7 separate regions of the Homo sapiens genome follow, and all the other regions are linked to region 3. Evidence: promoter capture Hi-C in 16 types of primary human blood cells and fetal thymus (Javierre and others, 2016). All regions are on one chromosome and are shown on one strand. Each heading gives the region's core, a stretch centred on a gene start or on the middle of the fragment in contact. The rest is flanking DNA. Distances are from core to core; before and after follow the strand shown.

What was found. Contacts are between HindIII fragments. The CHiCAGO score rates a contact against its expected background, and 5 or more counts as called.
Region 1: a contact is called between a fragment that was not itself captured here and the fragment with the promoter of NAA30 in region 3, in 1 of 17 cell types (non-activated CD4 T cells). The highest score is 5.1, in non-activated CD4 T cells.
Region 2: a contact is called between a fragment that was not itself captured here and the fragment with the promoter of NAA30 in region 3, in 1 of 17 cell types (fetal thymus). The highest score is 8.1, in fetal thymus.
Region 4: a fragment that was not itself captured here is called in contact with the fragment with the promoter of NAA30 in region 3 in 1 of 17 cell types (fetal thymus); the score reaches 7.3 in fetal thymus.
Region 5: a fragment that was not itself captured here is called in contact with the fragment with the promoter of NAA30 in region 3 in 2 of 17 cell types (fetal thymus and non-activated CD4 T cells); the score reaches 8.1 in fetal thymus.
Region 6: a contact is called between the fragment with the promoter of GMFB here and the fragment with the promoter of NAA30 in region 3, in 1 of 17 cell types (non-activated CD4 T cells). The highest score is 6.9, in non-activated CD4 T cells.
Region 7: the fragment with the promoter of CDKN3 here is called in contact with the fragment with the promoter of NAA30 in region 3 in 6 of 17 cell types (activated CD4 T cells, naive CD4 T cells, fetal thymus and 3 more); the score reaches 6.8 in activated CD4 T cells.

The regions. Positions count from the first base shown.
Region 1 is chr14:54,507,063-54,510,496 of GRCh38, forward strand. CGRRF1 (cell growth regulator with ring finger domain 1) reads left to right here and starts at 2,844. Exons shown (of 6, transcript NM_006568.3): 1 at 2,844-3,001. The coding sequence starts at 2,898. RefSeq lists silencers at 2,505-2,934, 2,734-2,919 and an enhancer at 3,095-3,324. The HindIII fragment of the contact is 561 bases long and covers 1,092-1,652 here.
Region 2 is chr14:55,029,296-55,032,727 of GRCh38, forward strand. It overlaps SOCS4 (suppressor of cytokine signaling 4), which reads left to right. Exons shown (of 3, transcript NM_199421.2): 2 at 2,568-2,696. Among named protein-coding and RNA genes, the nearest start is that of SOCS4, 3.8 kb to the left of the region's middle. The HindIII fragment of the contact is 987 bases long and covers 1,027-2,013 here.
Region 3 is chr14:57,389,039-57,392,679 of GRCh38, forward strand. It overlaps NAA30 (N-alpha-acetyltransferase 30, NatC catalytic subunit), which reads left to right and starts at 1,548. Exons shown (of 5, transcript NM_001011713.3): 1 at 1,548-1,667; 2 at 1,919-2,690. The coding sequence starts at 1,920. RefSeq lists an enhancer at 1,532-2,527 and silencers at 1,656-1,795, 1,926-2,075. The HindIII fragment of the contact is 6,905 bases long and covers 1-3,641 here.
Region 4 is chr14:55,066,984-55,070,624 of GRCh38, forward strand. MAPK1IP1L (mitogen-activated protein kinase 1 interacting protein 1 like) reads left to right here. Exons shown (of 4, transcript NM_144578.4): 4 at 1-3,211. Among named protein-coding and RNA genes, the nearest start is that of MAPK1IP1L, 17 kb to the left of the region's middle. The HindIII fragment of the contact is 854 bases long and covers 934-1,787 here.
Region 5 is chr14:55,044,967-55,048,741 of GRCh38, forward strand. SOCS4 (suppressor of cytokine signaling 4) reads left to right here. Exons shown (of 3, transcript NM_199421.2): 3 at 1-3,775. Among named protein-coding and RNA genes, the nearest start is that of MAPK1IP1L, 4.8 kb to the right of the region's middle. The HindIII fragment of the contact is 222 bases long and covers 2,356-2,577 here.
Region 6 is chr14:54,487,098-54,490,824 of GRCh38, forward strand. GMFB (glia maturation factor beta) reads right to left here and starts at 1,883. Exons shown (of 7, transcript NM_004124.3): 1 at 1,828-1,883. The coding sequence starts at 1,830. RefSeq lists a silencer at 1,566-1,965. The HindIII fragment of the contact is 2,730 bases long and covers 1,244-3,727 here.
Region 7 is chr14:54,395,718-54,399,218 of GRCh38, forward strand. It overlaps CDKN3 (cyclin dependent kinase inhibitor 3), which reads left to right and starts at 1,290. Exons shown (of 8, transcript NM_005192.4): 1 at 1,290-1,360. The coding sequence starts at 1,352. The HindIII fragment of the contact is 7,211 bases long and covers 979-3,501 here.

The DNA of each region.
Region 1 (3,434 bases), core at 122-2,621, 2.9 Mb before region 3:
TCTCCGCAGTGAGGGCTGGCCTGGTACCACAAAAAGCCAGATGAAACCCGCTTCCCCTTAGTGAGGACCTACAGGTGTCATGCAGAGCTGAGGTCTCATTTTCCTGACCTCCACCATCAGGTCATATGAACACCTTGTACAATCAGATACTGTCTTGGGAAGAATCAAGAGAAGAGAGAGGAGAGACTAAACATTTTCCTAAAGGAGACCAGCTTCCTAAAAGGTGCAATTAAACTTGAAGAGTCTAAGATACTTTTTTTTTTTTTTTTTTTTTGCCGGAATCTTATTCTGTCGCCCAGGCTGGAGTGCAGTGACACAATTTCAGCCCACTGCAACCTCCACCTCCCGGGTTCAAGCAATTCTCCTGCCTCAGCCTCCTGAGTAGCTGGGATTACAGGTGCCCGCCATCATGCTGGGCTAATTTTTGTATTTTTAGTAGAGATGGGGTTTTGCCATGTTGGCCAGGCTGGTCTCAAACTCCTGACCTCAGTTATCTGCCCACCTCAGCCTCTCAAAGTGCTGGGATTACAGACGTGAGCCACCATGCCCGGCCTAAGATACTTTTTATTGATAAATTTAAGCTCACATTGTCTTCTCTTTTTACCCCGTCTAATAGTAGGGTGGGGCTTCTTTCTTTTTCTTCTTTTTTGAGACAGGTTCTTGCTTTGCTTTTTTTTTTTTTTTTTTTGAGACAGCGTCTTGCTGTGTCACCCAGGCTGGAGTGTAGCGGCACAATCGTGGCTCACTGCAGCCTCAACCTCCCTTGCTCAAGCAATCCTTCTGCCTCGCCCAGTTAATTTTTTAATTTTTTGTAGAGACAGGGTCCCACTATGTCGCTGACGCTGGTCTCAATTCCTGGGCTCAAGCCATCTCCCTGCCTTGGTCTCCCAAAGTGCTGGCCTTGGTCTTCCAAAGTGCTGGCATTACAGGCATGAGCCACCATGCTGGGTCTAGGGTGGGGTTTCAAGCTAAACTAGATCAGTTATAGATAATAAAGAACAGTCATTCTTCCTGTTCATCTGAGAGTCAAACTTTTTTTTAAAAAACTCTAATATAGATACTTTGTGCTTCCAAGTAATCTCATGGAGAAAAGCTTATTTCATTTATTTATTAATTCAGTAATATGACTACCCGACATATACTAGGTACCGGTGGCACAAACATCAATTATGTGTCATTCCTGTGCTCAGAGAGCTGGGTTCCTAGCAGGCTAAATACACTAGTGAGCAGGTGCTCACACCAGAAATAAGAGGGCTCCCATACAGTTACATACTGGGTGCTTTGGGAGAGGCATCTCCCCAAGGGTTTGGAAGCATCCAGGAAGGCTTGCTGGAGAAGGGAGCCTTTCAGATTGGCCAATATTTTTGTTAAGTGACAATATCAAATGATGGCAAAACTGTGGATGAAAAACTGGGAATACAAATTGGTACATTTCTGGAGAGCAGTGTTTTTACAAAATCTTTAAAATGTACATTTTTTAAAACCATAGTTCCACCTCTAGTAATTTATCCTAAGGAAATACTTTAGCTGTAGGGATGTTCATTGCAGTGTTATTTATAGCAATGAAAAATTCTCCAACAGTTGAGGGCTGATTAAAGTATATATTTTCACAAATCAGATATATAGTAATTAAAAATTGTGTTGTAGAAGCAAGCTTCTCAAACAGTGCTGCTCCAGAGACTACGTGCTCATTTGCCAAGGAATATGTGAGGCCATAGGACAAACTTAGTTCATCTTTCTCAACACGAATTTTACTGGTGATTTAGGAGTGTGACAGAGGCTACTAGTTAACTATCCCAATGTCCATTCTCTTTCCTCCTCAGTAACAAAACTCTTGATTTGTACCAGGGTGTGTTGCTGCTCACGAATAATAAGACTACATATCCCCATTCTCTGATGTGGCTAGATGTGGCTTTAGGAGTAAATGCAAACCAACGAGGTGTCAATGAACTGTTATGAAAGACTTTCAGGGAGGCCACCTTGATGGAGCTGACTCACAGGGTTGAGACAAGGGAGTGACCATTTAGCTACTTTCAGTAATTTTTAAAAAGCTTCTGTGTGATTTAAAAAGTTTTTTAAAAATTATTCTTAAAGTGGAAACAAATACAGTTTCAAATGTTTGGCTAATTCTAATTTGAGGAGTACAAGAAGAGGAGAAAAGGAGGGGGATGTGGGAGGAAGCGGATGCTTTATTTCTAAGAGAATCTTGGATAAGCAATGCTGATTTTCCTCTATGATTAAGTCCAATCTGAAAAGGCTGACAAGTCTCGTATAAATTGCTTGTGGTAGAGACTCCTTTTTTTGTGTTTTCACTGTGCTTATGGTTATTTCATTTTGTAGAATCCAAGATGCCCGCCCTCCTCCTCCTCCTCCTCCACCCTCTCCCAAATTTGCCTAAGATATAATAGGCAGGGTTTCAGGATTTAGAAACGATGCACGTAGATTTCAGACTGCGCCTCTCTCTGACATCAGAAAACCTACATTGCCTAAGGCTGGCACAGAGTTGGCCCCAAAGTCTACTTAGAATTTGCCGGCGGAACAGCAATGACCACTGGGCCACAGCGCTTAAGACGCCCGCTGGGTACCAATCCTGGGAGTCGGGGGCGGTGCGAGTCGGGCCCCCCCCATCCCAGGTCTGCGTAGCCAATAGCTCGGGACGGGAGCGGGAGGGGCGTGGCGTGTCCGGCAGGGGGCGCCGTGATTGGCACGCCAGCTCCCGCTGTCCGCGAGGCTGCCCTAAAGTCTAGCTCATGAGAACCCCAGGCAAGTGCGGACCTACAAAGTTTGTCCGCTCCGGGGCACTGTAGTGGCTTTTACCCTGGCCGGGCGGGCGGGGCTCAGCCGGGCTGGGCTGGGCTCCGCGGCTGGAGCCGGGCTCTACCCAGAGCAAGACCCTGATGGCTGCGGTGTTTCTGGTAACGCTTTATGAATACTCGCCGCTTTTCTACATCGCGGTGGTCTTTACCTGCTTCATCGTGACCACCGGCCTGGTATTGGGATGGTAAGTGTCCCAGGGGTGAGAGACGAAGGGGCGGATACCGCCAGAGTGGGGTCGCGACGAGCAGCAGGGGGCACCGGAGCCGGAGGGCCGCGGGCCGGAGGACGTCGGGGATTCGGTGTCCCCGGGTGCCTAGAACTCCGACTTTCTCTGGGAGGAAAACAAGGTGGACGCTGCACCTGCGTCACTGCCCTGCATCACCGTTTGGTCCGTGTCGCTGGGGCATCTTGGGGTGGTACCGCATTGGGGTGTTTTACTCAGCTTTGTTTCTAGGCGATAAAGCAGCCAGGAAGGGCTTGGGCTTGGGCTTGGTGTTGGGAGAAAGTGCTTCTCTAGTAGGCTTCTGTCCCGGATTCGGGCCTACTGTGTGTCCTGGATGAGTTAGTCACCTGTGCTACAGTGCACAGACTGGACAGTAAGCGAGGTTAACAGTTGT
Region 2 (3,432 bases), core at 270-2,769, 2.4 Mb before region 3:
TCACTGATAGGAGTATCAAAAATTTTCCAAATGTAGTTATTTGTCATTAACAGTGCTTATCTCATAGGTGTGGGTGGCTAAATGAACTGACTGAAAATGATGCCAAAGTCACAGATTGAATTGCAGTGATGGTTAGTTAGCTTTGCTGTGTTGTAACCACTCATACTACCCTTAGACTCACAAATATTTTTGCTCCCAAGGACAATTGGGTGAGAAAACATGGGTACATTGCCATTCTACCAATGATGGTATTACCTATATAAAATCATGTGATCTTACAGGATTTATCTAAGAGGATATATCAGTATTGGCTTATGGAAGGAGTTTAAAAAATTATTTTCTAGTAAAATATGTACTTGGTGTAAAAATGATTAATCTTGTGAAAGGTAAGGCTAGAAGAGTGTAACAATAGCCAAGGAGACCAAAGTATTGAAAAAAGAAACATTGAAGGCACTTTAGAAATGTGAAGATTTTTATATTTCCAAATGTGTCCTGAAACTTACTAGCCTATTTAATAATTTTGGGGTAAATAGTACTTGTCTGTATGTATACTTAATATGATATAAAAGGCAATACAGTAAAAGTCGTCCTCCTACTCATACTCCCAGCCATCCAGTTCCCCTGGCTAAAGACAGCCAGTATTTGATTCTTGTATTACATTAACACTAGATCCTTACTACAGCAAGATGAGATAATCAGTGTTATATAGATAGAAAAACAGAAAAGTTGTGATTTATCTAGTCTTTATCTAGTCACACACCTGCGAAATGTCAGAGCTAGAAATAGAACCCAGGTCTTTCACCTAGTCCAAGGTAGTCTACCGCACTGATTCTCCAAATCATAGCTGTTGCCACAAAACTTAGAATTTAGTAAAACATAAAGTGTAGAGTCACCTTTTACTAATTTGTACGTAAAACTTGTTACCCAACCTTAAATGTAAGCATATGTAATTGTTATAAAGCAGTGAAGAAAATATAATACAATCTTATAAAATCTTTGCCTGTTTCTACTTAAATCTATTTACTAAGCTTCTAAAAAACTACAATTTTTTGTTTTAAAGAATTTAAAACTTTTTAAAAATAATATATTTAACATCAGGAATAATATAAAGTGCTTTGTGATATTTCAGAAATGGAAGAGCCTCCTTGACTTCAGATTTCTGAGGCACGTTTTTGTGCAGATTTTCTAGCCTTACATATAGCCTTTGTTTCCCCTCCCCTTTTTCTTAAAAAAATAGTGTTCTTTAAAAAAAGTGTTCCCACCTCTCATTTTTAGAAATGTACTTCTTCTAACATGAAAAGTTCTGAGTAATACTAGGAAGCAGTTAATATTTCTTTTCATTAAGTTCAGTGTATGTTGTTTTCATACCTTTTACTCCTGGCAGTAAAAACATGAGGTAGCTGGCATTATCCAGATTTTACAGTGGGAGAACTTAAGCTAAATTAGATTTTTTTAAACCAGGTAACATACCTAGTGAGTGGAAAAGTCTGAATTGTAGCCCACATTTGACAGTTCAGCAGCTCATGCTATTTCATCTTCACCATGTTTATTTTCAAATATGGTATAGTGAAAAACAGTGTAGGTTGTTAATTTTTTACAGATCTTTAAAACTTTAAAATTTTCTCTTTATGCTTAATTGGTCTCACAAGAAAAAAGAATTCAAGGAAATAAGCCAAAATGTCAAAATTGCTTGCTTTTAAATAATGGAATTATAGCTTTTTTCCCCCTCCTTTTTAAACTTTTCTGAATGGTCCATGTATTATACAATGAGCATATATTGTTTTTATCATAACAAATTACAGATTGGAAGAAAAAATAAATCTGTTCAATCTAATTTATTCCATAAAATGGTTCAGTATTATATCTTAAATATTCTGTTTCTTAAATTCTGTTAATCTTCCTTCTGCTTTTAGAAGTTCAGGTACTGCCAGCTCGTAGTTTCTGCTTTCTTCACTCTAGATTAGCCCCTTCAGTGATGGGTTCCTAGACCTCTCTCCTTATCTTTAGCTAATAAGCTTAGGGAATGTACACTGATGTTAACAGATTAGCCCATTAATGTTTCCCCAAACTTTCTTCCACAAAAGGATTTATGGCAAAGTAAAGACAGGAAGCTATGGTTTATGCAGATTTCTTTACTGAAGGATCTCCTGGGAACGTTTGCTAAATATGCACTGTAATCTTTGAGAGAAGAAGCATTTCCCAAACTTATTTGACAAGAGAACCTTTTTTTCTCCAGAATATGTGTTAACATCTTTCAGAACTAGTGTCCACAAGAGTACAGAGTGGGGAAAAGTGACATAAGCAAACTATAATTAGGAAAGCATGGAAAAAGTGGGGAGAAAGGGAAAGGAGGGTGTAGTGCTACTAAATCAATGATTCTTTTTTAGAAAATTGCAATTAAGTCCCATGAGCCCTGGCTCAGTAGCATGAAAAAAGGAGATACTTTAAAATATTTACTGGAAAATGAACCTGTATTGCTTCTGTAATGAGAAAACATTTGTTTTTTAGGTCAGATATTTTCCCATACAAACAAACCTGTTTTCAGATTTTTTTCTTAACATTCCAAGGAGTTCATCTGTTGTCTGCTCTCCAGTGACTTCCGTTTGTGGAGCCTAAGTGTTTCTACAGAATCCAACTCAAATATCAAGGACTATGATCAGAATGCTTTCAAGGAGTTTTTGGGCACATGATGGCAGGTAAACTTTGGAATCATGAATTTCGTAGGGAAAGTCCCCAGGCTTAATTACTACCAGAATAATAATATATTTGTGAATTATTAATGTAGTATACTGAATTATTCTTTATAGGATCAAATGTATTCCAATTTAGTATTTACATTAGTTGTGGTGTTAGATGTATGTCAGCATCATAGACATAAGTAGTTCAATGAATAATTAACGTATGCAATAATGCTGTTATCCTACATCATAGAGGATACTAATTAATTTCCAGATAAATGAAGCTTATCCTTTTAATTATTGGATTTGAATTGTTTCCTGTAGAAATTTTGAATTAAAATCACCTTCTCAGCCTTAGTCAGTATTACTAAATGTTATTTAAATATTTTGTAATGAAAATTGACATAATGGGCACTCATTTTGTTATTGTTGTCATTGTAATTTGTGGTAGAACCTGGGACCAAATAGTGGCAGAATCTGGGTACTTGTTTTCTTGAGAAGGCTTTTATATAAACTTGCTTTTTAAACATTTGCTTTTTGCTCATTAAGAAATATGACTTAAAAAAAAAAAGATGTCATTCTGTACTCCCCAGGGCAATGTAACATAGCTGCCTTCGTAAAAAATTAATTATTGAATCAAGAGCCAAAGCAGCCTTTTCCCAAGTGATTCTTTCACCTTCTTTTTAAAAAGCTTTTTTGCAGCTACAGTCAAAGATCTTTGATTTGTCACCATCTTTCAAACCATCATCTTTGA
Region 3 (3,641 bases), core at 298-2,797:
GCAGAGATGAGGTTTCACTGTGTTGGCCAGGCTGGTCTCGAACTCCTGGCCTCAAGAGATCCTCCCGCCTGGGCCTCCCAAAATGCCAGGATTACAGGCGTGAGGCACCGCACCTGGCTAGAGACTACATGACTTCTAAGGCTAGGTTATAATGGGTAATATGCTTCTGATTGACTTTCTCGCACGATACTTGCCGTGGAACCCAGCCACCAGGCTGTGACAAAGCCCAAACCAATCAATGCTAAAAGACCACCGGGAGAGGTCTACATGGACTAGAACTGAGGCCTCCAGCCTTTATCCTGCATCAACCATCAGCGGTGAAAGTGAAGTTTTCAAATAATTCTACTCCTCAGCCTTAGAGTCTTCCAACTGAAGCTCTACGCATAATGGAGTAGAGAAAAGCCATCCCAGTTGTGCTCTGTCTGGATTTCAGAGGCACAGAATCTGCGAGCATAATAAATACTTTATACATAGAGTTTAGATTACGGCAAAAAGTTGCAAACGTGTTCCGTCATAGAATTATATATTGAAAACGTCCATCTGCGGCACACCAGACCAGCTCTATAAATCAGGTTTTTAACAAAACCGAATTTGTTCAGTGAGCGGGTGAGTTACACTACCTGTCTCAGCTCAGACCTGCCGGGAGTCAATTGTGGACTAGAGCAGAAGGCGCCCAGCCACAAGCTCAAGTTCTATCCCCTTTGCACTCGATAGGCAGATCCCCTGGGAGGATCAGGCCACCTGTTTACCAGTGCTTCCTAACCTATTTGTGTCACAAGTTTAGGAGTGTGCTTCTTAGCCCTGGTCACTCTCTTTCACCACCTCTCTCTAACCCTTCCCCAGGTGTGCTAGCAATTGCCCAACACCTGTCAGTCACTTTTGCCTCCAATTTTACTGGGTGCGAGGAGCAGAGTAAGGAGGGAGAGGAAGAGGGCTGACTCCCTTGCCTCAAAGTGGCAAGGGCCAGCTGAACTTAATTCACACTGCAAACCACCACGTTTCGACAGCCATCCCCATATTTTCACAGCTCAAATCTTCCTTTCTTTTTCGGTCGGCTTCTCTGATTTGCTCCATTTTTAATCGCTCCTCCCCCATCCTCCTTGCCCCTGGTCAGGGCAAACATTAAACGCTGTGCAGCTTTAAAAGGGCATTTTTAGGTGACTTGTAAACGGCTTGTTCCACAGGCCCCGAATTGGCGAGATTCGCTACAGCTCGGAGTGCGCGGTAGACTTTAAGCAGGGAGCGCCTGCCCGGTCCATCCCTCCCCGGCCCCGCGTGGCAAGCACCGCAGGTTGAGGCGCCCCCAAACCGAGGAAGAGGGTTTGGGAGCCTGTGACTCCAAAGCCCTCTGCAACTTCCCGGCCCCACAGCCCCACCCACTAGCACGCGGCCTTCCCCGCAGCCCGCAGGAGACACCTTTGTCCCCGCCCCTCCACAGGTCACCTCCCTCCACGCCCCTCTCTCTTGGCCCGGGCAGCCGGCAGGCAGGGAAGTGTCGTAAAGCCAGGCCCAGGAAACTTTACCCGGCCTAACAGCTGAGGCGCTTTACGGCGACGGCGGCTGAGTGAGAACCTTGGCGGCTGTGGAGGCTGCCGCGGCTGCGAAGGAGGCGGCGGCGGTGGCGGAGGAAGAGGAGTGGCGGCAGCGGCGGCGGGGACCCGTGCGGGGTGAGCCGTGAGGAGGGGCCGCGAGTGACAGGGCTGGCGGGTGGGCCCGGGCGGACGGGGACGGTGGCCGGCTGAGCAGCTGGGCGGCGCTGAAGAGCGGGGGGGTGGCGGGGAATTGGGGGGCAGCTCCGTGAGGGACGGTTTCTGCCTTTGTTCCCCCCACCTCGGCCGCCCCCCATCCGTCGCCCCCTGTTCTCCGCGCTCCTCGGCCGGGTTTCATGGCCTCCCCTCTCGGTCTGTGTCGCTTCTAGGATGGCGGAGGTACCGCCTGGGCCTAGCAGCCTCCTCCCACCACCAGCACCTCCGGCCCCGGCGGCGGTCGAGCCCCGCTGTCCCTTCCCGGCGGGGGCCGCCCTCGCCTGCTGCAGCGAGGACGAGGAGGACGACGAAGAGCACGAAGGCGGCGGCAGCAGGAGCCCGGCGGGCGGAGAGTCGGCGACGGTGGCGGCCAAGGGGCATCCGTGCCTCCGCTGCCCTCAGCCGCCGCAGGAGCAGCAGCAGCTCAACGGATTGATTAGCCCCGAACTGCGGCACCTCCGGGCGGCCGCCTCCCTCAAGAGCAAGGTCCTGAGCGTAGCAGAGGTGGCCGCGACCACAGCCACCCCTGACGGAGGCCCCAGAGCGACTGCAACAAAAGGAGCCGGGGTACACTCGGGCGAGAGGCCCCCTCACTCCCTCTCTAGTAATGCAAGAACTGCGGTCCCCAGCCCGGTGGAGGCAGCGGCGGCGAGCGATCCCGCGGCGGCCCGCAATGGACTGGCCGAGGGCACCGAGCAGGAGGAGGAGGAGGAAGACGAGCAGGTGCGGCTGCTGTCTTCGTCCCTGACCGCCGACTGCAGCTTAAGAAGCCCTTCGGGCAGGGAGGTTGAGCCTGGGGAGGATCGGACGATACGATATGTCCGATATGAATCCGAGCTACAAATGCCCGATATCATGAGACTGATCACCAAAGATCTGTCCGAACCCTACTCCATTTATACCTATAGATATTTTATCCACAACTGGCCACAGCTGTGCTTCTTGGTAAGTGGATAGAATAAAAAGAGGGTGAACCCAGCAGTGATCGAGACTGTGCGGGGCAGGGAGTGAGGGCCCAGAATGTGGCAGTGGATATCTCCTGCTGCGTATCATAGTACGTTATATGATGTCAAGTGCTGTACACATTCCTAGTTATTTAATGAAATTGTTTTGAAGGTAAGACTTCATGATTCGGGTTAACGTGATACTAGTGTAACTGCAGCAAGCCTGTATGGTGGCGTGTTTCACTGGGGTGGGGGTCTTGTGTCTTGTTTACATTAGATTATAATCGTGTTTAACCGTCTTTAATTACCCGCCCGCATCCTCAAACACTTTACAGTCATTTAATTTGAACATGGTTCTGTTCAGATACAGGCCTTATTAGTCTCTCGATTACAACCATAATCAGGGAAGAGTGTATGCATAAACATGTTGTGGTGAACATGGATGTCAGCAAACTTGGTGTGGTCATATTGGAGAATTAAATCTTACAAGCATTTTCGGTAATTATGGAGATGTTTCTCTTTACTTCAACTGGACAATTAACAGTTGTAGCCAGCCTGCTTTCTGGTACTCCATTCCAGAAAGCGCTACTAACACTTCTGGTGGCTGAAAGACTCCTGAAACTTGAACAAAATACCCTTTTGTGGAATGTAGAAAACTTGTGTGAAATTGTTACCGATCTGATTTTTTTTTTTTTAATTTAAGAAACTGGTTGTAGATGTGGCCAAACACTAGTAACACTGGCTTGTGTAGAGTATAATTGACAATAATATTACACGTAAGTGAAAGACTTTTGGACGGTTTTTAAAAATTAACATAGTATTGGCAGTACCAGTAATTTCTTCACAATAATATTGACCCATTTCAGTCTGTATGAACCCTTTAACTTAAACGTTGACTGCAGGTGTATGCTTTGTATCATGTGCTCACAAGCATATTGTTTCTGTTGAATTT
Region 4 (3,641 bases), core at 111-2,610, 2.3 Mb before region 3:
ATCTCCCAGGTTCACACCATTCTCCTGCCTCAGCCTCCCAAGCAGCTGGGACTACAGGTGCCCGCCACCATGCCCGGCTAATTTTTTTTTTTTTTTTTTTTTAGTAGAGATGGGGTTTCACTGTGTTAGCCAGGATGGTCTCGATCTCCTGACCTCGTGATCTGCCCGCCTTGGCTTCCCAAAGTGCTGGGATTACAGGCGTGAGCCACCACGTCCGGCCGATTTTTTTTTTTTTTTTTAATGTAAGAATGGAGATAAAAGGGATAATATAATTTGCTTTTATATTGTTATTTTTGTAAAGCATCTTTTCTTCAATTCTTGTTGGCATTCTGGGCCAAAATATTTCAGGTTGGTTCGGTGTGGAGTTAAGAAAAGCAGGCGTTTTAGTGGAGAAATGGGGAACAGCATCAAGAAAGGCTTTTTTCCTTTTTTCTTTTTTTTTTGGAGACAGAGTCTTGCCCTGTCACCCAGGCTGGAGTGCAATGGCGTGATCTTGGCTCGCTGCAACCTCTGCCTCCAGGTTCAAACGATTCTTCTGCCTCAGCCTCCCAAGTAGCTGGGATTACAGGTGCCCGCCACCACACCCATTTTTGTATTTTTAGTAGAGACGGGGGTTTCACCATGTTGGCCAGGGTGGTCTGAAACTCCTGACCTCGTGATCCGCCTGCCTCAGCCTCCCAAAGTGCTGAGATTACAGGCGTGAGCCACCATGCGTGACCTTTTTTTCTTTTTAAAAGGGAACAATGTTGCTTTCAAAACAAGACATGCTAGGCTGAAACTGATTTATGGAAAAGACTGCTTGTTAGCAAGTATATTTGGTCTTGAGGGGGATACAGATTATAGAATATGCTGACATTTGGGCTTCAGAGGAAGAATTTTCAAATCTAATGGAAATAGTTGAGGTGTTCAGGAATGCTGTTTCTTGGAGTTGGAAGCTTAGGTTTTGAAATGTTGAAACCAAAAAGACAAAAATTAAAACATAGACCTTAGGTCGTCATTCACACCCGGTTCTCAAGAATCAAGTGGAGCACTTCAAAGACCTTGGCTTGTCTGTCCCATCCTGCCACTTTCTCATCTTTTCATGCTTTTGAAGACACCATTTACAGCTCTGACTCAGCCCTATTTTGTGTAAAGTAATATATTGATTATTCAGAAATAGACAATACATTTTTTAATTACCCAAGGACTGACTGTTTTGTGCATTTTACTGTTGGTTGTCTTCAGTAGAGAATAGTAATAGGGCAGAGAAAAGTATATATTTTGCCTCAGTCAGTCCCACCACCACAATGGACTATTGGGATATTTTCTAAAAAACCAATCAATTTGCCCATGATTACCTCACAAATAATTAGTGCTACCTGGGGTACTCTCAAATATACAGCTTTTGAAACTGTAGATGAAAAAAGCTCTACTCAGAGTTTTTGTCAAGACTGTGCCTGGGTTGAATATCAGTCAATTGCCTACACTTCTAAACAATAAGTGCCAATGTCTCAATTTTCTCACCCTGAATGATAGAAGCTAGCTTTATCAAATGCCAAGGTTAGAAAGCCTGGAAATAAAACTTAAGCACAGACATTCAAGTTTTTGAAAAGCATAAGCCTAAATTCAGATAAATCACACTGATATATTGTACTATGCATAGAAAGTTGTAGGTGGCGTTCAGGGAAGACTTTGATTTTAATAAAGCAATATTTAGTATTGAAGACAAACACTTTTTATTTTCAGATTTCTGCCAAGTAAAACAGAAATTGCCAATAAAATAATCAGTATTTTGTAAATGGCAGGCAAGCTTCTGGCTGTCGAAAACATCTGAGTCATTTATTCAGTAGACAATATGTCCTTGATCCAGGTTCTTTGCCAGCTATAAGGGAATCCCTGTCCTTGAGAGGCTCATAGTCTATAAGTAACATTACAGAATTTGTTAGCATACCCATTCATTATTAGTTTTACCTAAACGTGTTAGGATCACTACTGGTGGAAATTGTAACCAGCCTTTGGGCATCTTAAAGGGTGACATGTGGCATGCCTTTTTTTTTTTTTAAGAATTTAATGTTTTTCAAGATTGTAGTGTTGATCAGCGCAACAATTCAAGTGTGCAAAGTAACAGGATAGTTTGCCTCTTCACTTTACCCCTGGATAAAGGCACTTTCACTGCCTGTCACTGATCAGCAGATACTGACTTGTTGCCATTAAGTGAACTTGACTTCTTATGTGTGCTCTATGAGTTTGTTGTAATTTTCTTCTTGAAATTGTGATTTTTCACTGACAGTAATGACAAATTTAATGTATGTAATTGTCTATGCATTTTAAGTTAAACTGCCTAAAATGTGATTTGAGACATATACATATGTTTGTATTATAAATTGTAAGCAATCAGTTTGAGATACTAGGTTTTATCACCTGCTGCTGTATTTGTAAACAAAGACAAATGTTGCTTTAAGAAGTAATTATAATTAGGAATAGGCTATGGATGTGATACTTGGTATTTTTTAAGATAAACTTGTTTGCTTTTGTGTATTATACCTGGAAACTTTTTTTAAAAAATGTATTTTCATGGTTTCACAGATTTTTCATGTTATTTTATTCTTTAGGCCCAATTCTGGGCTTCTCTGAGCAAGTCCAGAGCCTAATTAACTGTAAATTTGTTGTCAAAAAGGAAGAAAAAAGGGCCTGAGATACCTCTTTGCATGTGACCTGCATTCACTAAGGATATCTGGAAACCACCCTTCCTCCGCAAACCCTCTCAGCAACATGGTGTCCATTGTGGTGATTTTCTCTTCTTTTAAGGCTAGGCTACTCTTGGTAACCAGATTATCCGTATATATGATAATATGAAGTCAGGGAACTTTCTCTGTCTGTCCCTACTCCCCTCACTCCCCCACTTTCTGTTATGAAAGATAGTTCTACTTTTATCATTAACTGCTACGCATTTAGTGAGGGTCACATTATTAAACTTGGAGTTTACCATTTTCCCACAGGAGATTTCGCTGGCATTCCTTGGAACTCCCAATTTCAGTAGGGCAATGAATGAATGAATACTTTGCAGTGCTACTTTTGGAAGGAATTTCTGCTTTTTGCCTTATGATTGGACAAAATGCAGCTGTAAAATTTTAAATTGTTTTTGATATGTTATTCAATATCCCATGAAAGTATTCACCTAAAGTGGAGTTATGAAATGGATGGTGAAATAATAAGACCATTCTGGAGCAGGGCCAGTTTCTTTTTTTCCTGTTGTGAGATGACATTGCTCTGACAAACATGCTATCGTGGGTTACCTGACCCAGGCAAGTCCTTTTTTATCACCGTATTAATACTCTTAGCACCAATCCTTTTGCAACTGATCTCCAAAGCAAAATAGAATTCTAAATCTTAGCTCACTTATTTTAAATAAGGCATGCAATAGAATTCGAGTGCCAGGAGAGGATTTGGGTCATCTCATAGAGCTTATTCCTGTGGCTTTTACTTATTTTTGGGACAGTCTCACTCTGTCGCCCAGGCTGGAGTGCAGTGATGCAATCTCTGCTCACTGCAACCTCCGCCTCCCGAGTTCAAGCGATTCTCCTGCCTCAGCCTCCCAAGTGGTTGGAATTACAGGTGCACACCACCAGTCCTAGCTAGTTTTTGTATTTTTACTAGAAATG
Region 5 (3,775 bases), core at 1,217-3,716, 2.3 Mb before region 3:
TTAAATATTAACTCTAAAGCAGGATTACTAAATTTGATTAATCTGGTCAATGAGAATCAAATGGAAACATATCATTCTGGAGGTGCACTTACTCTTCTACAATGTGGCCGGATCATTTGTCATTCCTGAATAGGTCTTTCTCTCAACCTGCAAGAGCTAAACCATCTTCAAAACATAAATCTTGTTCCTTTCTCATTGGAAGCTTTGAAAATAATGATAACACTATTAGTAGCTAGTAGTTACTAAAGTGCTAAAGTAATTGTGGGGTTTTTCTGTATTAGCTTATGAACTGTTGCTTCTACTTAGCCCTTTTATAGAAACTCTGAGCTGTTACTTTGGGGAAATTCCACAATGTATTAGCAGCCACAAATTTCCACTGGTAACCAAAGAGTACCTAAGTAGTTTTTCATTATTTTAAGTTGAATTTGAATAAAGATTCCAGAAATAAACATGGAGCTCAGTATTCAGGAAGCTTAATACTGTTTTTGATCTACAAGATCCAAATAATTATCCCTATCTTCAGAATTAACTTAGTCTGTAATGTGGCTTCAAAAAAAGAAAGCCTTTTGACAGCTACATGACTTACACCATACAGAACAGTACTGGACAAAAGGGGTGATATTTTAAATTTACTATCCCAGAAACAGGGCAACGTTTTTAGAAACATCTTTAGCCCAAAGTAACTAGTAAAAATAAATGGAGTGGTATCCTATCTTCTTTTTTTAAGGAATCAATGAATAATAAATGTAGATAGACAATTTTCTTCTGGTGAGCTGTCTAACCCTTTGTACACATTGACATTTTTAATATCGTAACTGATTTCTTGATGCTAGTTTAGCTATATTAGGAAACTGCTTCTACCTAGATTGAAAGAAATTTGACTCATAAACTTCCAAGTTAGAACAAATATTTCTTCATTATTGTTGCTTTTATGTGAGTAGCATTTCCCTATCTTGCAGTTCTGTTAACATGAAAATGGCATTTTTCCATAATAGCTTTAAAATAATTTTTTAGTAATTATTACAAAATTAAGGAAAATCTCTATTACCGTTATCTTTTAGCATTTTTTTTTTCCTCAGTGATCTCAAGATTGTCTTAGTCTCAATGAGATGTAGCTACAAAAATGGCACCTCTTAGCAGTGATGAGGCTCAGGATATCGGATATCATAACACCAATGTCAGGATAAATATCTCTTCTAAAGACGATATTTACCTTTTACAAGGTTAGAAAAGTCTCATACTACCTCATCTTTATTGTGGCGCTTTTGTAGATCACTGAGAAGCTTATCTTATTAACCAATATACCACTTCCTAAATATCCATCTTTGGTGAAAGAAAATAGTGTGGTAAGAGTACCCATGATTATAGTTTTTTATCAGAATTTGATAAGATTTTCTGTTTCTGTGAAACAATTATTTTAAATATTTTTCTTTTAAAAATAACTTTTTATCAGTACAGAAAAACCTAAGGGATGACTAGCTTACAAATATTCTGTTAAGGGGTAGTTTTATAAAGAAAAATGATATATAGTTATGTTGTCTTTTATAGTGTTAAAATTAGTATTTATATGAAAGTCAAGATCTAAGTACCTTTTCATATAATTCAAACTGATTGCTTGTGATATGTTTTCTCTGGCTTTTTTATTTTTTCAACTTCAAGGTATTAACAGCTGTTAACACTTAAAAAGTACTGCCACATATGTAGCCTTGAAGTAGTTGATCTAATAAATGAGAGCAGGGAGGAGATTCATTGACTCTGAAATGATTTTTATTTTTCCTTTGGTATTTGCTACAGTGAAAAGAAGTTTGGAAAGTAGATACATAAAGACTTGAGAAGGGAATTGTTTAAGGGAAAAGAAAAGAGTAATAATTTTTTTTAAAACATTAAGGAATTGGAATTCAGAAAGGTTACCCCCTTCCTCTGTGTCTTTGTAAGGATACATTTGGAAGAACATACAGTATTCAGAAACTAACCTATATAAAATGTAAACAATATATTGATTGCACTATATAAATGAGTAAATTTTGAGAGGAACAATGTGGGAATGTATAAATTTGTCTAAAATTTTATAACTGTTGAACAAAGGGAAGATTTGAACAGTGTAAATTCCAGAGTTGAGAAAGCATTTAGCATGGTGGAAATGTGGAGAGCTTATTGGTGAGAGAGGATGGAGCTAAGAGAAATAAGATCAAATATTAAAATTAGGAATTTAGGCATTACCTCAGGGAAAAGCCTTGACAGTGAAAAGAAACTACTTAATCGCTAATAGCTAGTCTGGACCAGACACTTAACTGCGCTTTGGGAATCATCCTGGGCTAATCAGGAAATAAACTTGACTTTTCTATTTTTCTCTGAAGCTTTACAGGACATACTCCCACTCCCATTTTTTTCTAAGCCTACAGCATCTTGATTCATAGTATAATTCCTGAAGTATGCTGAATGGACTTTTTAAGGTTCCTTTAGCATTTTTGTATAGAGTTATATGTGATCTTTCTATAACCATGCCATTCACTTAAATAATTCATGAAGGGAATGGTTTAATTTAAAGGAAGACCTAATAGGAAGAAGATTAAAGGAAGCTTTTAGTCAGCCTGTGGCTAGATTTATTGATTTGGTGATCAAACCTGTGCTATTTCCTGAATTTCAGCTAATGGCCAACTGTGGTCAAAGAATGGCTTTCAGTTAAAGTTTTGACTTCTTATTATAAATAATATAAAGAATGTCTCAGTAATTAGAAATCCCTTAATAAGTAGAACAAATGTGGCAAGTAGGACTCCTATCGGTATACAAATTCCATTTCTTTTTATAAGAAAAACACATAAACCATTATCATTTATTCATGAGCCAAAGCCATTAAGAAGATAAATCCAGTTATCAGCTTCCTGTCTCTGAAGTTTGGATCATTTTATAGATCCACGCAATAGAGAGCTTCCTTCCTATGAAACAAAAACCTTGAGATCTCTTTTTTTTTGAGACAGAGTCTCGCTGTTGTCAGCCCAGGCTGGAGTGCAATGGCGCAATCTCGGTTCACTGCAACCTCTGCCTTCCAGGTTCCAGCAATTCTCCTACCTCAGCTCCCAAGTAGCTGAGATGACAGGCGTGTGCCACCACGCCCAGCTAATTTTTGTATTTTTAGTAGCGATGGTGTTTCACTACATTGGCCAGGCTGGTCTCGAACTCCTGACCTCAGGTGACCACCCGCCTCAGCCTCCCAAAGTGCTGGGATTACAGGCATGAGCCACTGTGCCCGGCCAAGATCTAACTCACGCTTACTTTTCATTAAAATATTTCTTGTCGCTTTTAGCTATTGTCAGAATCCAATAAACAGCTTACGCATTCATTTTGGTAAAGCAAATTTCACAGGAAAATAGACAAAATTATAAGAGATTCCTGGAGACAACACAAGGAAAACAATGTTTAAAAGCAAAATAGCCTGTGTAATGTTAGGTAATGTAATGCCCAAGTGAATAAAAGATTTTTCGTCAAGCAAACTACTGTTTCTACTTTGGGGGAAAAAAGTCAGTTTTACATTTGTAATTTAAGGAAAGAACAGAAAGCACAAAGGTTTTTCTTTTCTTTATTAATGGCCTACTAGAAATGAGCAGTGCAAGAGTCTACCTGTACTATTCTAATACAGTAAGATATTGGACACAAAATGGAGGTAACTTTTTAAAATAGATTGGCTTGGAAGTTGAAATGTAGATTAATGGATATAACCCAATAGAAAGGGATTTTCAAATAAAACCAAAGTCTATTTTTTTATTTACTTTCTAAT
Region 6 (3,727 bases), core at 633-3,132, 2.9 Mb before region 3:
TAATATATAGATCTGGGGTCAGGCGCGGTAGCTCACGTCTGTAATCTCAACACTTTGGGAGGCCGGGGCAGGTGGATCACTTGAGGTCAGGAGATCGAGACCATCCTGGCTAACATGGTGAAACCCCGTCTCTACTAAAAATACAAAATTAGGGCCGGGCGCGGTGGCTCACGCCTGTAATCCCAGCACTTTGGGAGGCCGAGGCAGGTGGATCACGAGGTCAGGAGATCGAGACCATCCTGGCTAACACGGTGAAACCCCGTCTGTACTAAAAATACAAAAACAAAATTAGCCGGGTGTGGTGGCGGGAGCCTGTAGTCCCAGCTACTCGGGAGGCTGAGGCGGGAGAACGAACGGCGTGAACCAGGGAGGCGGAGCTTGCAGTGAGCGGAGATCGCGCCACTGCACTCCAACCAACGCGACAGAGCGAGACTCCATCTCAAAACAAACAAACAAAAAAACAAAATTAGCCGGGCGTGGTGGCACATGCCTGTAATCCCAGCTACTTGGGAGGCTGAGGCAGGAGAACTGCTTGAACCTGGGAGGCGGAGGTTGCAATGGGCCGAGATCCCGCCATTGCACTCCAGCCTGGGCCACAAGAGTGAAACTCCGACTCAAAGAAAAAAAAGTACATACAGATCTGGATTGGATCTCAGAAGCAAGGTCTTCTGAGCTGTAAATTCACAAGTCATCTGAATATAGATGGTAACTGAAGCCATAGTTTAGGATGAAGAATACAGAATGGAAAATGAAGGATTAGGATGAAACCTGGGACTCCTTCGAGCATTGTCCAGGGAAAGGAGAATAGTCTGAAAGGGAAACAGATGGACCAATAGGAGAAGTAGGAGGAGCTCTGTATCCCAGAAGCCAAAGGGGAAGAATGAAGGAAGAGAATGCTTCAAAAACAAGAGAGTATAACACTCTGGAATGCAGCTAAAAGGTCAGAGAAGACGAAAACTGAAAAGAATCCATTCGATTCAGTGACCATGACAAGATCTATTCGATGAAAGTGGGCTGAGAATTGAGTGGATGGTCACAGAGAGCAGTGTTTTGTTGTTTCTAATGAAATTTACCCATATTTTAAAACCTAATGGGATGGATCCAAAAGATCCTTGATGGCGATTTATTTAATTTTCCACTTTATTTTTATGCTTGGGGTCCATCCCATGTAAGAACAGAAGCCACAGCCCCCAGAACCAACAAAACTAAAGTTATTGACAATTACTTTAAGGCCCAGTGCCAAAGCTTTGGGTCGAAAGGTTTCCAACTGCCATAGGAAAGCAAAGATAAGGAGAAATCCTCTGTAGGAAGCTAGGGAAAGGAGCAGAGAGAAAGAAGCTAAGGTGAGGCCGAGAGAATTCAATCGGAATTCGAGTCCTCCCCCAAAACGCCGCCAGGTGGAAGATGCTCGGGGCCCACCAACCCCTGGAACCTGGCCACGGCCCTGGCAGGGAAAGCAGGAATTGAGGGAGCCCTCCGATGGGGCAGACCCCTTTCCCTCCAACCTACAGCTCAGAAGCTGAAGCCCTCCAACCAGAAGGACCTGGCGTGGGGCCTCCCCAACCCCCCTGCTCGTGGCCGCACCCTAGTCCCATGGCCCGCTGGGCGGGTCCACCCCGGGCCCAGCTGGAAGATGCTGCCCTGAGGCGTGGTGGCGGCGGCAGAGGCCAAGTACTCTAGCTATGGGCACTGGCCAGCTGCTGGGAGCGGAAGCGGCCGCCGAGCCCTCCTGGGCGCTGCCCGCCGCCGCCGGCTCCGGAAACCGGGAAAACCCGGCTGGCCGGCTCGCCCAGCCCTCCGGCCCCCGCCCTCCCAGCGGCAACTCACCATTTTCCTTCCGGCCGTCAGCGGCCTGTCGCCTACACTCGGGCGCCTTTAAGAATGGCACGGCGGCCGCCTCCCTTCCTGCCCCGGCGCCTGGCCCAGTCGCCCCCACCTATCAACGCGGCCTCAGCGGGCCGGCACGTGATGGCGGACGGCAAAAGGCGCGGCTCAAAATTAGACAGAATGCGATCGCCTGATTTTTTTTTTTTTTTTTTTTTTTTTTTTTTTCTTTTCCCTGCTCCCTCTAGAGGAGGACGCTCTGCCTGGCTGCAAGTGAGAAACAAACCCAAGGTGCATACTTAAAAGTCATGCCAGTTCTCCGGACCTTTTTCGCAGTCTTCAAGCTCTGAGAGCATGTTAATGGTGACATCAATGTTTTCAATGGTAAATGTGTGTACTGACCGCAGCCTACCTTCCAAATTTGATCTCCCTCAAATCTAGGCACACCTCCTTTCCTCCCACCCTCTCCAGAACCCCACTTCTGACCACGGCTGCCTTCCAGGACTTGGTTAATCAATCTCTCTCTCTCTCTCTCTCTCTTTCTCTCTCTCTCCCTCCCCCTTTCCCTCTCTCTCTTACACACATTTCTTCTCTCTCACACACACACACATTTCTTCTCTCTTCTCTCACACACACACATTTCTTCTCTCTCTCTCTCGTCTCGCTCTGTTGCCCAGGCTGGAATGCAGTAGCACGATTATAGCTCACAGCAGCCTCAAACTCCTGGGTTCAAGCAATCCTCCTACCTCAGCCTCCCCAGTAGCTGGGACTACAGCCGTGTGCCACCACACACCCGGCTAATTTTTAAATTTTTTTGTAGAGATAGAGTCTCCCTATATTGCCCAAGCTGGTCTTGAACTCCTGGCCACAAACAGTCTTCCTGTGTGCCTCCCAAAGCGCTGGGATCACAGGCGTCAGCCACCATGCCCAGCCTCTTTTCTCCATACAAGTTATTTATTGAAGTATGAATGAATGATGATTGGTGTTTCAATGAGCACTCTTATGGGCCACTGCCTAAGTAAACATCAAGAAGTCTCTGTACCAGATGCAGACTTAGTGGAACAAGTCCAGTTTTGAATGCATGAAGAAAGTGGTTTGGGAGAAGTAAAGTTTAGGCTCTAGGATTCAACAGGTACCTTCAATAAAACAAACTGCCTGGGGCAGTACCTCATTTTGTTATGACCATGGGTTCTTGGTCTCTCAATGCAAATTGACCTGAGGCCAAAAGAGTTTCTCCAGGCAAGGCTTCATTGGAGCTTATGCCGGAGCATAAGGGAGGCAGCATAAGAGAATGAGAGAATTCCCTGACTGACTCTCCTAAAAGAGCACAACAAATTAGGGGTAGTTTATGCAGGTCAGCATTATCTGTTTGCCAGGGTTGTCTTGAGTAATGGGCCACCCAATGGTCTGGTTTGCGGCAACAAGGCTGTGAATCAATTGTTCAACATTCCTCTCCAAGGTGGGACACTCTCAACCTTGGTTATCTCCTAAGGCCAGTCATTGGAATTCTTTAAATAAAAGGACTATTAGCAGTAAGGTAGTGGTGTGGGTTTGTCATGAGTGGAAATGCATGAAAAAAATGCTCTAGTGTGGGTGAGCTGAAGCCAAGCCCCATTTCTACTGTTTTTCATTTCCCCTTATAAGATTTTACCTTCCTTATTCTTAAGGAGAAAGGGCCAAAGATCTTATCTTCTAAAGCTACTTCCTGCTGAACAGGGTTGTCATCCCTGCTTAACCCCGGGGGGCATGGAAATCTCTCACCGACTGTTCTACAGACTTGAAGGGACTTGGAATAGTTGAAGCCTGGAAGACATAAACTTTAACAACTGTACCCCTATTGAATATAACAAATAATTATTTTAAAAGCCAAATAGCACCCAGTGATAACTAATAAAATGCTTAA
Region 7 (3,501 bases), core at 40-2,539, 3.0 Mb before region 3:
TCCATATATACACATCCTATTCATTCTTTATCTCTGGGCAACCATGACTAGCTAATACAGTCTCTAAATCAAACTGTGGTACCTTCTTTACTAAGGAATTCCTTCTAATAGCTCTATACCCATTGGCTTTCACAACATGAATCAGGGGTTGAAATTTCTGCATATTTTTCTCAGATCTGCTCCAGGCGACTTCCTTTCCCATGGCTAGTTAAATGGGGACTGGAGAAGGCGGAGAAATACTCACATTTTTAAAAGATTACAGCTAATTATGTAGACACACTGGCCCTTAGACCTATCTTACCTGGCATTTTATAATTTCCCTTTCACACAATATAATTTAATTCATATTTGGGGGACAGGAATATTGATCTACACTGTAACTTGTCTAGTTTCTGGAACGATAAACTAAAACTTCAAGCATATAAAATATGTTTATACTCTAAATTTTTAGTTTTTTCCCTAGTATTTGTATGTCTAGATATAATTACAAAGTCTATGTGATGTTTTTCATGTGACGATCCAATACAGTGCTTCCCTGAGCCCTTAAAAAATAAAAAATAAAAATACAACTTAAAGAAACAAAAACTCCCTACCGTAGCCGCTACAAGGGAGGCTAAGGCGGGAGGATTGCTTGAGGACAGGAGTTCGAGGCCAGCCTGGGCAACATAGTAAGACTTCCGTCACAAACACAAAAACTCCCAACCCGGGTTCGAGACCAGCCTGACCAACATGGAGAAACCCCGTCTCTACAAAAAATACAAAAATTAGTCAGGCTTGGTGGCACATCCTTGTAATCCCAGCTACTCGGGAGGGTGAGGCGGAGACTCGCTTGAATCCGGGAGGCGGAGGTGGCGGTGAGCCGAGATCGCGCCATTGCACTCCAGCCTGGGCAACAAGAGCGAACTCCGTCTCAAGAAAAAAAAAAAAATCACCTCCCAACCGTATGGACCACGCTGACATCCTGCCATCAAGAAGCAAAGCTTTCCAGCGTCCCCCAAGCGCTAGGGCCGCCTTCTGACTCTTCCGCCCCGCCTCCGCCCCCTGCACTCTCCCAACTGGCGGGAGGAGGGCGCCCTCCCAGCCAATCAACGTCCCACAGGGCCCGCCTCCCGCGCGTCTTTCAAAGGTCTTCTAGGAACCAGTCAGCGATTAGAGGCCGAGTCTTCGGCCACCCAAAGGCGGAGTAAGAAACCAGAAGCGGATCTGATTGGTTGCTGGAAGACGCCGCGCCCACCTCACAGAAGGACGAACCAGTGAGCTAAGCTGCGGGGCGCGGGCTCGGCCGGGGCACCGGTGAGTCGCCGGCGCTGCAGAGGGAGGCGGCACTGGTCTCGACGTGGGGCGGCCAGCGATGAAGCCGGTGAGTCGGACGTGCTGGGGTTTGGAGGAGCGAGGCGGCAGGGACGCAAGCGGTCCCGGGGACCCGATCCTGGGCCGGAGGGCAGCCCTAGCCTGGTAGCAGTGCGACTGGCGCCGTAACCGTTCTGCGGGTCGGGGAGGTGACTCGCACGGGCCCAGCACGGGCACGAGAGACGAAGGAGCAGGGTCGGTGGCCGACGAAGGAAAGACGGACATTCGCTGTGCACCTGCTGTGGGCTGTCACCTGTCCCCTGCGGGGTCTCATAAGCCTCCCAGCCGCCCAGCCAAAGAGGGCCGAGCCTCGTTGTACCGAGGAAACCGAGCCGAAGAGCTTGAGTGTCAGCGATGAGTGGGCGCGATACCCCAGCCCCGAAGGGTGGCCGGGCGCTACCTGCGCCCACAGGGCCTGGGGAAACCTTGAGTACGAATGCCACGCCGCGGCTTGTGGGCGACACCACCGCTGTCACCATGCCCCAGGGCCACCTGGCAATGCTGCTCTTTTCCCGTGACGTTCAGAATCACAGGGCCTGGGGAAGCAGAAACGTCCAGCTCTGTTAGGATTAATAAACCTGGTGAATGGGCCACACAAATTTGAAATATGAATCATCAAAGTTGCTTTAAAGAAAAAACAGATGCAGGCAAGGAGCTGAAGATCCCCCACCTAACCCATATTTCCTACTGCCCGGCTTGACAACCTACTGGAAGCCTTTCCTTTGGGTGCAGTTGATTATAATACTTCAGATAGAGCCAAAGCAACAGAAATCCATAGCCTAGGGCCGGGTGGTGTCTCGCGCCTGTAATCCCAACACTTTGGGAGGCCAAGGCGGGCGGATCACTTGAGGCCAGGAGTTGGAGACAAGCCTAGCCAACACGGTGAAACCCCGTCTCTACTAAAAATACAAACATTAGCTGAGCGTGGTAGTGCACGCCTGTAGTCCCAGCTACTCGGGAGGCTGAGCCACGCAAATAGCTTGAACCCAAGAGGCAGAGGTTGCAGTGAGCGGATATCACGCCACTGCCCTCCAGCCTGGGCGACAGAGCAAAACCCTATCTCAAGATAAAAGAAAGAAAGAAAAAAAAGTCCGTAGCCTAAATTAGCCGTCCTGTGATCTTCTAGTACCAAGACCGTTGTAGAATATAGCTTCAGAGCTAGAAAGAGCATTAGGTGCTTACAATTGCTAATCCCTATGTTGCCATGTGGAGGGACATCAGCTGTCCTTCACTCCTGGCCTCTTTCTCCACCTGTCCCCATTGAGTTATCTGATCCCCGAGTTTGGAAGGAACTGAACACCAGTATCTCAACTTTTTCTTTCCTTCTTTCTTGGGATCTACCTGCCTGCCTGCAGAAGGTGCTTTCTGGTCCACTCTCTGGCACACAGGAGCCCCAGACTGTCCATGGCCACCTGTGACTGGGTGGATACATTTGTCTAATTCTGGGGTGAACAAGGGGCAAGCCCACGTGGCAACAGCTTTAAGCTGCATACTCCATTTGATATACAATAATAAAACTCCATTTCTTTATCTTTCAATTGGTTTCAACTAGGGAGTGAGAAAAGGGTATGGGTTTTGTTCTGTTTTGTTTTTGTTTTTCTTTTTCTTTTGATTCCTTAAAATTTCAACAAGGAGTGTAGAAGTCTTCCATGTCAAAATGCTGCAGGATTAAGTTCCAACTGCTTAGATCAGCATACGAAGTCTATCTCAATCTCTCTAGTCTAGTGATTCATAAAGTTGGAGGCAGGTTATTTCACCTACACCACCCCCACCAAACTACTAGGCCATGTGGGGATGTTTTTTGAGAAAAGGGGTGGGCAAAACTACTTCATCTCCTCTACTCCATCTCTATTTTGATATCACAGTTCCTCAATACACAAGCCCTTGGCTTAACTTCTTTCCTTTCTTTTTTCTTCTTCCTTTTTTTTTTTTTTTTTTGGCAGAGTCATGCCCTGTCAGCCAGGCTGGAGTGCAGTGGTGTGTTCCTGGCTCACTGCAACCTCTGCCTCCTGGGTTCCAGGGATTCTCCTGCCTCAGCCTCCCGAGTAGCTGGGATTACAGGCATGTGCCACCATGCCTGGTTAATTTTTGTATTTTTGGTAGAGCCAGGTTTTGCCATGTTAGCCAGGCTGGTCTCAAACTCCTGACCTC